2 separate regions of the Homo sapiens genome follow, and region 2 is linked to region 1. Evidence: promoter capture Hi-C in 16 types of primary human blood cells and fetal thymus (Javierre and others, 2016). All regions are on one chromosome and are shown on one strand. Each heading gives the region's core, a stretch centred on a gene start or on the middle of the fragment in contact. The rest is flanking DNA. Distances are from core to core; before and after follow the strand shown. Region 1 holds the start of CBLB (Cbl proto-oncogene B). Region 2 has its middle 180 kb from the start of LINC00882.

Region 1 (7,792 bases), core at 3,549-6,048:
CTTTATTACAGAGAACAACTACCAAATAAATCATTGTGTGGAAAAGAATTGATTTGGGAATCAATTGTCTGGGAAAGAAAATCACAAAGAAGTGATTGTGAAGACATTCATTTGTTCTTCAGATATGTAACTGTTTAATCTGAAGTAAACTTTGGGATGGAAAACTATTAGGAACGTTTCTTGCTTAATTTTGCCATTGTACGCTCTGATATTGATTGTTCAGGATTATTGAGCACACATGCTGTAATGAGAATTGTATATAATTTACTATATATACTTACATATGATAGACATTAAAGGATATATGTGTCTAGTAATAGCAGATGCATGTTTCTGCCCACTAAAGAAATGGTTGCAGCTTTTAATAAATATGGCTAAGGGAATGATGTTAAGATTACGTGTGTGTGTGTGTGTGTGTGTGTGTGTGTGCATGCACATATTGTTCTGGATTTCAAATGAGTATACAAAATTATCATTATCTTACACCACTTGCATTGGGATCTTCAGTTTTTCCTTCAAGAAGTGAATTATTAATAATATATTTAACTTTTAGAGTATTATTGTGGTAGGACTCGCCAGTTTCTTGCTACAACATCTATTCATCCCTTTCTCTTTAGAAACAAACTAGAATTTTTATATTGCTTCCCATAATAAAAAACATATTGCCTTCCAGATTTTGCAGCTAAATTTGGCTATGGGACTAAATTCTGGCCTTGAGTTGTTTAAGAGAGATACTTGTGAGAGTTCTCTGAAGATTGGTCAAAGGAAACTAACTCAGATGGAAGATCCATTTGCCCTCCTGCCTTTCCTCTTAGCTTTTAGCCTGAAAATCAGTGGTGATGGCTGGAGAGCCAATAGCCATCTTGGAACACGACGTGATTCTGAAGGTGGGAAGCAAGGCTGGGATGGTACAGAATAAAGATAGGAACTTGGGTCCTTGAGAAAATTGTGGAGCCACCATATCTACCTGTAATTCCTACTTTCAGACCTTTTTCTATGTGTGAGAGATTTATCTTATTTAAGTCATTGTTATTTTTGTTGTTAATACTGTTGTTGTTAAGCTAGCATTCTAGTTGAGCCCAAGCTAGGACTCAGAGTCTGGTTATATCTGATGAGCCCCTGGATCAGCATCCCTCAATGCCAACTATTAAATGTAATGGGTTAATGATGAATGGAACTCTATTTCACGTAACAAAGAACAACTTGTTATGCCCAAATATTACGAGGTCATATTGCTCTTATTTCTCTCTAACCTGAGATTTGGGTCCGTGTTCTCTATGAGAAATTAGAAATTTCTGTTGTGGTATTCTGTTTTTGTGTTAGGATCGTCACTGTAAATCTACTTAATAGTAAAAATAAAATCTTGCTTGGAATTGTGAATTAAATGAATTCTCCATTGTGCAGAAACAGGAACAGCATTATATTTTGTATGTAATACTCTTAAACAGTCAATTCATTTATTCAATTAATATTTTTGAGCTATTATGGGTTACATAAGTTATGGAGGGGCTTTGTTATTTAGTCAACTCATGTCCAATATCACAGGGGTCAGTTGTGAATTTGGAAAAAATAGAAGAAAAGAAAAATTAAAGCAAATGACAAAAGTCTAAATATTTTCCTCAAATAATTGTCTTTTTTTTCCTTAATGTCTTGTGTTTACAGACTGGAATTTAAGCCGCATTTTTCTAGATGGCACCAGCCTATTGGTACATATATTAATGTCAAACAGTAATGCTCAAATTACACGGGTTCACAGCTGTTTCTACATAATTTCTTAAGTATTCTTGCCACGAAGTCTCCCCCTCTTTTCTGGGAGACCTGGGGGAAGGGTCTCACATGTCCTTATGACCGGTTTGCTCACATTACTCACTTACTAGCCACCCTTGTGCTTACAAGATCCTTCATGTAGGAGCGCCACCATTCTGTCTTATGTCAGGATCTTCCAGTAGAACACTGCTGTCCCGTAATAAGGCCATATACATGTTCTTTCTAGGTTACAATTTCCCACACTGCTAACTGATGCTGCATTCACTTTAAACTGCACCCTACTGGGGACTGACTTGTTCTATAGAAATGAGGTGACTGTTTCTCTAGCCAACTCTGTCAGCTTGAAGTACTACTGCTTATGTCCTAAAATCTCTTATGGAAACATTTCTTTGTCTTCTTATTTATAGTCCTGAAGCATGCATCTTTTATTGTGCTTTATCTCTTGTGTCTCTACTGGAGGCACCCGGGGTTTGAAGTTTTATCCCAGCAGTTATTTATTCCCCGTGCACATTTACTTTTTCTAATAATTGGCAGGGAGGACTTCTACTGCTCCATCAGTTTATGAGAGAAAACCAAACTGAATCCGAGTTTCAGCTCAACTGGGAACCCTGCTACACCAGAACTTAACCTGGATTCCAGATTGCTTGATAAAATAGCTAGTTGATGATAAGCTATAATTTCTTGACCACACACACACACACACACACACATGCGTACATATGTACATACAGCAGTTCCCTTCATCCACAGGATATGCTCAAACCCACAGTGCATGCTTGAAATCTCAGAAAATACTGAACGCTATATATACTATGAGTATTCCAATACATACATACCTATGATAAGTTTATGAAGTAGTCACAGTAAGAGATTAATAACAATAACTATTAATAAAATAATAACAATATGCTGTAATACAAGTTATATAAATGTGGTATTTTTCTCTCTCTCAAAATATCTTTTTGTACTATACTCACCTATTTTCAAACCCTGGTTGTCCACAGGTAACTAGAACCAAGGAAAGTGAGATGGCAAATAAGTGGTAAGGGATGCTACCGTATCTCACATACATATATTTCAAAATACGTCAAACCATACACCTCAAAACTTGTAATTTATATCAACATGATATGCTTGATACCATAGGCAATGCCATTTTCTCATTAACTCATCTCTTTCAGTTGCAAAACACCATATAAAAGGAATGGCACATGCTATAACATGTATTTTGGGTATTTTACATTTATCCAGATATGAATATAAGTAATATACTTAGTTATAATGTTCCCTTAAGCCACTGTTTTGCTACATGCTTCTACACATTAATTCTTTTAAAATTTATTTTAAAGGTAACACAGTTTTTTTCTTTTACAGTCTCCCCTTAGTAAATGTAGCTACTACGACTATGAGTAAAAGAGATATGGATGGGTGGAGGAGATATGGAGAGGCCAGCACTTTTGTAGATAAATGCAATGTGAAAACAAGGAACTACTCTTTAATTACTGGCACAGAAATAATGACAAGGAAACAAAATTACTTCCTGAATCACACTTTATCACCTGACTGGTTGCAAAGGCACATTTTTTTTCTGTTTTCGTCAAATTAAAATCTTAACCATGTAAATTCAAGGCTGTAAAGGAAAACTCAGGATCCTTCATAGTAATAATTACAGTATTAAAATTCTTAGTTGCTAGAAAGTGGTTAGAACCATTGAGAAACATTTTATCAGGTTACGTGGTTAGAGCAAGATTTGAAAAAACAAAATCAAAAACAAAAAACCCAATGTAAAATATCAGAACATCTGAGATGTCCAAGCTGAAAAGTGTAATAAACGCTATCAACTGTAGTGGAAAGAAAGTTCCAAAGTATGAAGTCCAGAGCAATTGTTGGTAGCATGAGTGGTGGGATTGAAGTAAACTGAAATAAATGGAAGGCATTTGTTTAACCTATGATATTGCTGAAAGACAAGTCCCAGCACAGTAGCTTTCTCCTTTAAAGACTAGCCAGATGTCGGCCTTTTTAAGAGCACAAAGAAGGGAGCCACAGAAAGAGGTAACAATGCTGGTAGAGAATGGCAGCTACAGTAAGGTTGTTTTTAAATGGATAGAAATCTATGTAAAGGTGACTCCGACAAAACACAGTAGCTGTCTCCTCCTCAGTCATTTAGGCAGAAACTTGCACTAAGTAAAAAGGTGCAAGGTATTTATCAGCAATTCCCATTATCTGGTACTTTTATTGCTTTGGCATGATTAGCAGAGACTGTTTGGCCAGCGTTGTCAACTATTTGCTTTTTCATCAGCCTGATGTTTGGTCTGCAATCCCTCTAAAACTAACAGCAAAAGAGAAACTCGGAAACTTGGGAAGTTTCAGTTGGCATTCAGATGTCACCCCAGCCTACTCTCTGTGAGATTTATTCTGCATTTTAGAAGCTCAGTGGCTGTTGCTCTTTTTGATAGCCAACAAGAAGCAACGTCATAGACCTGTTTGGCTGCTGTCCTGGGTAGAAGGGTTTGGCAGCCCTAGGGAGATGAATTTCTCCAGCGTTGGACCCGCCCAGAGCGGAGAAGCAACACCCTTCCAGCCACTACTCTGTTGCTATGAAACAAAAGACTAGGAAGGTAAGCGAAGCAGGAAGTCCCGCCTTTCAGCCCCAGATGGCTTTGGCTCCCGGTCCCGACGCTCACGCCCACCTGCCACCCCTTATTGGTTAGCTCCTTCGTGCCTTGCATCCCTTCGTCCATTTCCTTTCCCGTTTCCACTTTCGTTCCCGGGAGAGTCCAGGCCCCTCATTTCTCTCCGAGTCCAATTCCTTTCTGACGTGCTGCGAGCGGGCCTTCCTCTGGGGCCATTGTGTACTGTGGAGGACGTGGACGGGGCGGCAGCGCGAGGAGGACGGGCGCCTCCCGTCCATTGGCTGCACCCGCTGTCGGGCAGTGCGCGGTTGCGCGGCATTGGCTCAGCGGCGCCCGGCCCCGCCCCCGCCCCGCCCCGCCCCGAGCCTGGGTCCTGTGTGTGCCACAGGGGTGGGGTGTCCAGCGAGCGGTCTCCTCCTCCTGCTAGTGCTGCTGCGGCGTCCCGCGGCCTCCCCGAGTCGGGCGGGAGGGGAGAGCGGGTGTGGATTTGTCTTGACGGTAATTGTTGCGTTTCCACGTCTCGGAGGCCTGCGCGCTGGGTTGCTCCTTCTTCGGGAGCGAGCTGTTCTCAGCGATCCCACTCCCAGCCGGGGCTCCCCACACACACTGGGCTGCGTGCGTGTGGAGTGGGACCCGCGCACACGCGTGTCTCTGGACAGCTACGGCGCCGAAAGGCAAGAAGGGAAGGGGTCGCCGGGGAGGCTCCACACTTCTTGCCGGCCCGGGGGCCCGGGGTAGCCAGGCGCGGGCCAAGGAGGAAGAGGGGACAGCCCTGGCTCTCAGCTGCCTTTGCCGCCGCCGTCCAGTTTGAAGTGGGGCATTTAAAGACCAGAACCCGCAGGCCGGGGAGGAGGGAGAGGGCGTCCAGGCAGACGGCGGTGAGGACTGCAGCAGGCGGCCGGGAGGCGCGTCCACCCAGGCGCCGAGCCCACAGTGTCCCTCCCGCGCCCTAGACGGACGGTGCTGCGGGCACGGGAGGGACACTTTGTCCCCTCCCAGTCCACCTTCCTCCTGCAGCTCAGACCCGAGGGGCCGGGAAGGGGCCTGAGCAGGGAAGGGACACAGGCGTCCTGAAACAAAGCTTTGGGTTGAGGGCAGAGGCGAGGAGCCAGAGAAGTGAACTCCTCCTTTCCGTGGCCGCTCTTGTCATTTTTCTCTTTTCTCTTTTCAAATGGGCTATTTGTGTGTTAATTTCATTTGGTTCTTGGGAATAACGACTCACCGCGTTGATTTAAAGAAAGGTGTTCGTGTGTCCGTACTTGGTGGTTTTAGTGTGGGACATGCCCTGCGCTTTTGTTGACAACAGAGCTGTCCCTTACGTTTGTGTAGGATAATCTTTATGTTTATGTAACTTGGAGAAATCTAACAGAGTGAAAGTGAAGTTTCTGCGTAAGGCTCCCAAAATGTATGATAGGACCTTCAGTTGTTCTGGTATTTTGAATTGGAATTAAGGCAGGAGGGGAAGAACATTCTGTTTTTATCTAGGTGGGGGAAACCTGTTTAAGTTTTGTTTGTTCTTTTTTTTTTTTTTATGAGTTGAGTATTAGTTCAGCCTTAGCTACTTGAAACGTGAGCAGGATGCATCTTTAACTCTTAGTATTGTAAAAGCAAATCTAGGATCACTGCTCTTAAAACTACTGTGTGTAAAGATTGAGAGTGTAAATTCACAAGCTTATTGATAAAGATGAATCCGGAACTTTTGGTTTTGCTCTAATCGATGGAGGAAGATGCAGTGGTACAAGTTAGTCTCTAGTTTTCTGGTGGGTAAATATTTTCAAAACCAACTAACTTTTCTTTTTTTAAATCTGCCTTTTAAAGAACTAAAATTCCAGATGGCAAACTCAATGAATGGCAGAAACCCTGGTGGTCGAGGAGGAAATCCCCGAAAAGGTCGAATTTTGGGTATTATTGATGCTATTCAGGATGCAGTTGGACCCCCTAAGCAAGCTGCCGCAGATCGCAGGACCGTGGAGAAGACTTGGAAGCTCATGGACAAAGTGGTAAGTTCTGTCTGACGTTGCCTGTGCGAAACACTATTCACTTTGTCTGTGGTTTCTCCAGATTTATTTATACTGTTAATTAATACCAACCATTGTTATGGCAACAATCTTTTGATTTCAATTCATCATTTTTCTTCAACTCTGTGTTTTTTGAAAAGTTGGATTCAAAGACTTTTTTGTTTTTTAACCTTTCATCCTTTCTACTCTTTAAGGTTCAGAGTTCCTCTACATGACTCAGTATGTAAAGTTTTACCATTGGCTGCTTTTTGTTGGTGTATGGCCATAGAATGCTTGGAAGTGTTTGTTCTGTCTTCTGTGAGGTTGTGTTGCTCTTAGATAACAAAAGAGTACCAGCAGGTTATTTAAGTCTTTGACCACTCATGACAATCATCTGGTATGATACTGAAAATATTTACTGGGGAAAGAAACAGATTAGTTCTTAAGTGAAGAAGCAGTAGTTGAGGGAGTTTCCATTTTCATCTTTGAGAATTCATCTTCATTAAGAAACTTTTTTTGTTGTTAATGGGAGAGTTAACAGTTTCTTTCATCTACTATTCCATTTTGAAACAGGAAACCTTTCGATGGCACATTGTTTATTGTGAAAGGAAAATTTATGTTGGGGGTGGTGAGGCTGAGAGTATCAGAAACCTCTGTGGTTTCTGCATGTTGCTTTCAGACAAACTATAATTTCACAAGAAGAAATCATGATGGGTGTCAGTATCCAGAGAAGTCAATCTGAATACCTTACAGAGATTTACTCAGAAACTGTAGCTGTCAGTATCCTACCTTACTAAGTATGATTATAAAATAAATTTAAGATGTAGCTTGCTGCTTTGCAAAAATTAATAATTCTTTTTTTTGAAGCAGTAGCACTGTCCTGGATTTATTAGTAAATGTTTGGAACACATTATGACTTTATTTCATAGATATCTGGGGCCAATTATAAGTTTAGTTGAGGCAAGACTCAGTATCTTTATAACTGAAGAAATGGAGGTTTTAAAAACAAATTTCTGTGTAAGGATGTGCCAAAGCATCCATGAAATCATGTGATAACATTCATCTTTGCTTTGATTTGCTCCTGTCTGTAAATATTGGCTATAAAAGCCACTATCAGTAGTAGTAGCAACATATGAATGTGACAAGATTTCCATTATTTTCATTTATTCTGATGGAAGGGACACACAGATGAATGACTGGCCTGTCATTCTACAGGCAATGGTGCTAAATGCAGAGCCAGAATATTTTTGCCAGATAAATAGCCTTAGTTTTGGGCTTCAGTGTGACCTATTTACGCTTCTGCCAATTTATTCAAATTGTTATATTAAAGTGCTCCAGACAGAATGATGTCATAGTGTCAGAATATTGCAACTTGCTGCTTGGGGTTCAGTTTTG
Region 2 (7,792 bases), core at 3,226-5,725, 1.2 Mb before region 1:
TTTTAGACACGAGAAAATAGTCTGTAGAGAAATAAAATTTAAAAATGAGAAATTTAATATCTTTGGATAGATTTTTAGGATTGGCATTTACAAGCGTATTCAGTTGCCTTTCTCCTGTCTGAGGAGCATAACCTTTTGTGGTCAGATTGATGATGCTCTTTAAAAAAAAATCCCAGCAATATTGTTACATTTCCAATTCCAAAACCAAAGTGGTGGGATTTGACTATAGGTTTCCTCATTTCCCCAGCAGTGAATACGAAGTGACTTTTCCATGTCCCAAATGTTGACCCAGAACAATATCATTCCCTGTGAGACAGGAGTAACTGATTACATTAGAATACAATTTTGTTGCCACAGAAATCAGGAAACTTTAAATTTAGCAGCTTCCTTCTAGGGTTTTTTGCTCTGGGCTCTCAGCAAGCGTTTGCGTTTCTACGTCCTATATCACCGTGCACCACTAGATGTCACTGTTACTCGGGTCTTTGGGTAACAGACTCAACAATATGCCTGACCTTTTGTGCCTGGGGAAAAACAATCTTCAGAAGGGGAGGATAATACTGTCTGTGTGGATTTAAATAAGACCTCTTTACCTGGCATTTTTATCGAAAAACAGATACTCCATATGTTGTGTTGATTGCTGTTTCCCTTTCTGTTTTTGAAAGGGAGAGACTGAATTAAATGCGTTTCTTCCCACAAATGTACCTTACCATTTCTCCTTATTCTCAATTCTCCCTTAAAAATGTAGCTTTTAGCTCCATAATATAAGAAATATTTGTTAGAAAATTAGGAAAATCATCATTCTATGGGTATTTAGAATCTATATATGGACTGCAAATGTTTCTTCCCTAATCTCTTCCTAACCTTAGAGAACTTCAAAATGCATTGTCTCATTTCCTAAGGAAAAATGTTGTAACTCTAACTAGGAAAAGAATCCTGTGAGAGCACAGCAAGTCAGCGTTAAGAATTGAATTTTCATGACTACCCTCGGATACATCCTTGAACCTAAGGGACAAATGTTGCCGTGAGTTTCAGGTTGTTTAAATGGTGGTGTTAGACACACAAATCATTCATTTTCCTGCTAAATTTCCTTTTCTTTTATTGAATATTGGATACAGGTATGTCTTTTAAGATGTGGCCATTGATTCATATATACCAGAGCATTATTTAAACATGAAATTAAATAAGATAATTAAATAACAATGCATTTATAAAGCGTTCTTGAAAATAGATTAATTATTTAGAGCATTTGAGTGAAAAGTCTCAATACGATTTCACTATAGCAAATGATAGCCATTAATAAGTCATAACAGGATAATAACATAAAACAAAAAATGAAAACCTTACAAAATATATCTTAAAAAGCGAAGTAGGGCTTTACTTTGAGTTGAGTTCGTGGTACAAAATGAATCAATTTGTTCTTTTTGGAACTTTATCTCCAACCGTGTAATATTTGTGTCTTTAACTGTTGGCTGCTTCTAACAGTTACTGAGCCAATTGACCTCCAAACTAGGACTACATCAATCTGTTTTCTCTCTAGCTGCGATGCCACAGTATTTATAGGTTATTCTGCACTGGAATTTTACCCCCTGGAGATAACTTGTAGCTATGGGCCAATGCCAACTCATTCTGACTCAGGTGGGGATAATAGTCCTTAAGATGAAGTTGCCATGGACTTTAACAATGTTTGGGGTCTTATTCTCTCTGCTCCTGTTCGCAACTCCTCACACTTTTTCCCCTCCCCTCTCTTCCTCTTCCCTTCAATTCTCTGTTCTGTATTCTTCTCTATCTCTTTCTTTTTCCTCCTGCCCTTTCTGTGTTTTCCTTCCATATGTGTGACCCTTAGATTTGTTGTAGAACTATATTGGAGATCGAATTATGATCACTTCTATATTAGTTTCCAGTGGTTTCTGTAACAAATAATCCAAATTTGGTGGCTTAAAGCAACAGGCATTTATTATTTTTTAGTTCTGGAGGTCAGAATTCTGAAACCCATTTCCTGGGCTGAAGTTAAGATATCTTAATTTCAGAGCTGTCCTCCCTATGAAGGCTCTAAGTGTATCTGTTTCCTCGCCTTTTCCAACTTTTAGAATTGCATTCCTTGCATTCTTTTGCTCCCCACCCCATCCTTCAAAGCCAGCACTGTAGCATCTTCAAATCTCCCTCTCTGCTGAGGCCATGACATTGTCTTCTCTCTTTTGTGTCAAATCTCCTTCTGCCTCCCTCTTGGGACACTTTTGAGCATATTTAGGGCCCACCTTGATAACCCAAGTTAATGTTTCCATTTCAAGATCCTTAATCACATCGGTAAAGCCTTTTTTTTTTTTTTAATATAAAGTAACACTACGAGTTCCAGGGATTAGGACCTGGATATATTTGGGGGCCATTATTCAGTCTCCCACAGCTTTTTAGCTGTGTGGTTGTGCAATTTATTTAGTCCCTCTAAATTTTAGTTTCCTTGCCAAATAGTGTTAAGTGAGGACTTAATGAGAAAATGCTTGCAAAGTGCTTAGCATAGTGCTTGGCAAAGAGTTAAAGCCACTTTAAATTAAAATAATTTAAGTGCTAATAAATATTACTCCTGCTATCAAATAAGATTATCTCATTCTTTCCCTCCCACTCATCTTTATGGTACTTCAATCTACCTTCTGACCTCATCTCTCTACCAGAACATTTATTTCAAGGTCTCCAGTCTCTTCTAGCTGGTCAAATTCTTGGGCTTCATTTAGCAGCATTTAATTAGGTAAACCACTTATTTTACTTAGAAATGCATTCGTTATTTTGCTTCTGCCATAACATATTTTCTGTTTTTTTTTTTCTACTTCACTGGATACTTCTGTTTTCTTTACTGTCTTCTCCTTCTTTTAATCTACAGTAAAATATTGGTGTTCCTCAGAATTCTGTCTTGAAGACTCTTTGTCTATTTTTATACTGAGATGAAGAGTAGCCTGGCAGTTTGATGATCTTAAAGAAGATAGTGGGGCAGGAATACAGGCAGCAAGGGGTGGGAATGGCATGGGACAGAGCTGGAGTTGTGGTCTGGATCAGATTCTGTGGTGACTGACAGGCCCTGGTATAAGGATTTTGACATTAATGTTAGGAGTGGTGAGATGTGTCTTAAGCCTCAGAAATAGATTTTGACATTGGTGTATTAAGTAGATCTCTGAGTCAGTTTGAGTTGCTATAACAAAATACCATAGACTAGGTGGCTTATTTATTTTTCACAGTTCTAGAGGCTGGAAGTTTGAGATCAGGGTGGCAACATGATCAGTATCTGGTGGAGGCCCTCTTCCGGGGTCTAGACTGCTGACTTCTTTGTATGTGCACATGATGGAAGGAGGGTGAGAGAGCTCTCCCTGGTCTCTTTTGTAAGGGCACTTGTTTCATTCATGGAGGCTGCACTCTCATGACCAATCACTTCCCAAAGGCTCTGCTTCCTAATACCATCACATTAGTGGTTAGGATTTCAATGTATGAATTCTGAGTGGGTGTTGGTAGTGAATGCCTGAATTATTTCCTTTCCAAAAGGTCTACAGCTCATGACCTTCTCCTTTCTGAAAGCTGCTGAACCATGAGCTAACCTACTATCTGGTAATTCTGAGCTTGGATAAAAGGGCAGGAGAGAGATGTCAGAGGTGTGAGTGGAATGTCAGGGGCTCAGCTTTAAACCCTATATTTAGTAAGAACATGGGAATTTCCTATGAGTTGGAAAAACACCACTAATTGTGGCTGTGATTTAGGCAGTACTGTAGATACCTTTCTGCTCCAGCTGGTGTTAAGGCAAGAAGGAATAGCCTTAGCTATAACCTGGTCTCCTAGCCAAGGGACATGCAGTGGGAGAGGCCAAAAAGGCCCTCCAAGAACGTACAAAGAGCCAATGCTTGGATAACTCTCTCAAAGGTGAAATTGCCAAGTAGTCAATGTTCAACAGAGAAAATAGCAACAACCTAAAGAAAGAGAATGGTGGGCCTGTCACCCACCATCGTGGTTGCTCCAGTAACTATTTCTCTCCCTGCCTCCTCTCACTGCTGCTGAAGCTTCGATGGAGAGTGCTTTCTCTGGAGAACACACCCCTTCCTCCCTACCCTCAAACACTTCTAGTCAGTAGTGTGTCCTGCTTTTGTGGAAGAGGGAGGTGTTTAAATAAATATAAGAAAATCTTAACCCAAACTGAAGAAATGTCATAAGAATGAGGTGAGAGATCTATAAGGAGCTTGTACCTAGGTAAAAAGAAGGTGAAAGGAGACATTTGATAGGTATTATTTGGGAAGATGGGAAAATAATTCCATGTTTATAGTTTAATGAGTTTAGATTCTTCAATCAAAACAAGTAAACATATGTGATTTAATTTTATTATCATTTTGCTCTGTATAACAAAACTTCGAGTTAAGTGTTCCTACCGTGATCTTGCAGATAAGTAAAATGAGGTTTCATGAAATCAAGTGACTTGCCCAAGGGCACCAAGATAGCAAGATGCAGATGAGGGACTGGAGCCCTCCTGTACTTGACTTTGAAGCCTGTACCCCTTCTCACCCACTGTACCGTTACGTATACCATGCTGTTAAATTGGTCTCATGGCAGTGGTGAGTTTAGAGTTTAAAATGAATAACTATTAATGATATTACAATTCCCCACATAGATCAGTCACCTAAAATTGCAAAGGGTAGGATGATGCAAATAATTGGCTAAGTCTGGAGGCATAATAGTTCTGATTTTGAAGTTAGATTCTGCTAAGACTACAGAAAGAACTATGCTACTCCCCTAGGTGTTCTTTATCCAATCACTCTGGATTATTTTAACCATAGCAAATGATTTTTGTATTGTCTATTTTCCTTCATCCACCCCCTTTAGAATATCAGCTCAATGACCTTTTTGTCTTTTTTACTGATGTTTTGCAAGCAACCTAGAACCAAAGCTTGGCACTTAAGAGGCCCTCCTTAAATATTTTCTGAGTAAATGAATGAAAGAAGAAATGATATGTAAGCTACCACCTAAATTCTACCCTGGAGTTACAGGCAAAAAAAGAAGGATAAAAAGGAGGAAGAAGAGGAGAACCTCAGTACAGAGCCCATCTGGTTATTCAAGAGTCAGTGGTTGGCAACACTGCATAAACATGTCATTATGGTCACTGGTTGTCTTTATAATGGGTTTGGTGACACTTGCATTAAAAAAATCTGTGAAGGGACAGTCACCATAAGAACCCAGTTGCATCAAAATTCTTTTTCCAAAAGCCTAACCAGGTGCTCAGCTTCTTCGTACCTGGGCGACAATTTCTAAGACTTTTGTCAGTTATTTGAGTGGTTGGGGTCTAGCTTGAGTCAAAGAGACTTAGACAAATAAGCATAACAGATATGCTGGTATGCCTGCTAGAAGTTTCTTTCTAGAGAGACCAATGGTCTTCTTGGTGAGATAATTTATTCTCAAAGGAATTTGATTTTCATCCAGTAATGAAGATTTCTTGTTTGAGTGCAAGAGCATACAAGGCTGGAGTGCAATGGTGCAATCTCAGCTCACTGCAGCCTCTGCCTCCCAGGTTAAAGCAATTCTCCTGCCTCAGCCTCCCAAGTAGCTGGGATGACAGGCACCTGCCACCACATCTGGCTAATTTTTGTATTTTTAGTAGAGATGGGGTTTCACCATGTTGGCCAGGCTGGTCTTGAACTCTTGACCTTAAGTGATCCGCTTCCTTCGTCCTCCCAAATTGCTGGGATTACAGGCATGAGCCACCATGCCAAGCCTCTCAGCGTAACTTCTATTAGACATGTAGCTGAGTCATATGGTGGATGTAGATGTGTTTGGCAGAGGGGATGTGTCTGTGTCTGAGAGCTCAAAGTGAAAAGTTACTGGATTCAAGTCATCATAAGATATCAAGGTCCAAGCAGCCCTACTTTGAGATCCCTTCTTAGGGGAAGCAACCCTGGTAATGCAACTAGGGGTAGTTGTTGAATGAGCTGAATGGCATTGGTAGAGTCGTTCATGAGTTCATGTGAAATGCTTTGCAGAACCTCCCAGAAGATTGTGAAAGGGTTTGAGGGACAAAGGCCAATGAATCCTTACTGTTGTACTCAGTACAAATATGCAGGTAAATTTACCTAGCTGTTTGAATAAATATAACTACTTTTCAAAACTCATCAATCCATAGTCTACTTAAAGGCAACATACATAATTGTAATAGTTTCCTGACAAATGTAGTCACCTTCATTCTATTGTTTTAGATGTTAAAGGAATTAATTAACTAGATTAATTAATTAACTCCCCTGCCTTCTTCTCCAAGTGAGCGTCATTGTCAATGTCCTGATGCTGGTCCAAGCTATCTTTTCTCCATACATGCATTCACTAACTGAGATGTCACTCATTCAGTCTGGTGTTTGGCCTTTGGTATCACTCCTTGCTACCATCATCGGAGATGTCAGTGTTACCATTTGGTGGCTGGCTGCAAAGTGCTCTGCTGCAGGGAGGTTCCTTGTTCTGACCCCAGGACGCTTCAAGGACTCCCTTTCAGCTAAGTTCTGCGTGCTTCTAGGGACCAGAGAGATTGGGCTTCCCTCCCATGCTATTGCTGGCTGGGCAAAGGATGTCTGTTTGACTGCCTCAGGTGCTCTCTGACAAACTTTTCTCTGTTGCAACTACACCAGGGGATCCTGCATTGGGAGGGAAATTGTAGGAGTTATTCCCTCTTTGGAGTCCCCTCCTAGGAAGATAATATGCTTTCTTTTTGCTCAGATTTTAAAGCATTCTGGGAGTTCTATTATTGTCTCCCATTGTGAGGCTAGTCAAGTCATATTTTGATTATACACAAAGGTGGATGCTTAAGATCACCTTTCAGAACTGAACTCTTGGCCAGGCATGGTGGCTCACACCTGTAATCCCAGCATTTTGGGAGGCCAAGGCGGGTGGATCACTTGAGGTCAGGATTTCAAGACCAGCCTGGCCAACATGGTGAAACCCCCTCTCTACTAAACATACAAAAATTAGCTGGTCATGGTGGCGGGTGCCTCTAGTCCCAGTTACCCGGGAGGCTGAGGCAGGAGAATCATTTGAATCTGGGAGGCAAAGGCTGCAGTGAGCTGAGATTGTGCCACTGTACTCCAGCCTGGGTGACAGAGCAAGACTTCATCTCAAACAAATAAACAAAAAAAATTCCTGAGCTCTTGATTTCAACTCTTTCTCTTCCAGTCTTTCTCATCTTAGAAAAGAGCCCCCCATCTGCCAGAGGAGTCATCTCCAGGTTCTGCCTTTTTCATCCACTCCCACATTTACTCCAACACCAATCCTGTCAACTCAGCTTCTGAAACACCATTCCACCACCTCCAGCATGGCCACCTAGCCACCATTGTTTCTAGATGATTCTGTGACAACAGCCTTCTATGTCTCTCCATATCCACTTTTGCTTCTACAATCCATTTTCCACAATGCGGACAGAGAAGCTTCTTAAAAGTGTAAGTCTGATCCCCCTATTCTGTAGCGTAAAACCCTGTTAATGGCTTTCCCTTGCACTTTGCACAAAATGAAAACCTACATAGACTAAAGTGATTTACTTCTTTTCTAATAGAATCCTACTTCTCTTCTCATCCACCTTGCTCTGGCCCCACAACCTTTCCTTAAGTTCCCGTATGGGATGCTTTTCCCTACTTTGACCATGCTCTTCCCTCTCCCTGGTCTCACCCCTGCTGCCCACGGCATGGCTGGCTCCTCAGCCCTCTTATATTAATTGATATACCATTAGAACCTAGCACATTTACTGGCACATAATAATACTAAAGTAAATGCTTGTTGAATTAATGAATACTTGAAA

What was found. The method cuts DNA at HindIII sites, captures the fragments that hold promoters and counts their contacts. A CHiCAGO score of 5 or more calls a contact.
Region 2: a fragment that was not itself captured here is called in contact with the fragment with the promoter of CBLB in region 1 in 1 of 17 cell types (fetal thymus); the score reaches 6.1 in fetal thymus.

The regions. Positions count from the first base shown.
Region 1 is chr3:105,866,018-105,873,809 of GRCh38, reverse strand. It overlaps CBLB (Cbl proto-oncogene B), which reads left to right and starts at 4,798. Exons shown (of 19, transcript NM_170662.5): 1 at 4,798-5,074; 2 at 6,219-6,400. The coding sequence starts at 6,233. It overlaps LOC105374024 (a long non-coding RNA gene), which reads left to right. Exons shown (of 3, transcript XR_007095990.1): 3 at 12-246. RefSeq lists a silencer at 4,600-4,829 and enhancers at 6,587-6,676, 6,797-6,846, 6,877-6,926. The HindIII fragment of the contact is 9,979 bases long and covers 1-5,483 here.
Region 2 is chr3:107,057,314-107,065,105 of GRCh38, reverse strand. No RefSeq gene overlaps it. Among named protein-coding and RNA genes, the nearest start is that of LINC00882, 180 kb to the left of the region's middle. The HindIII fragment of the contact is 878 bases long and covers 4,037-4,914 here.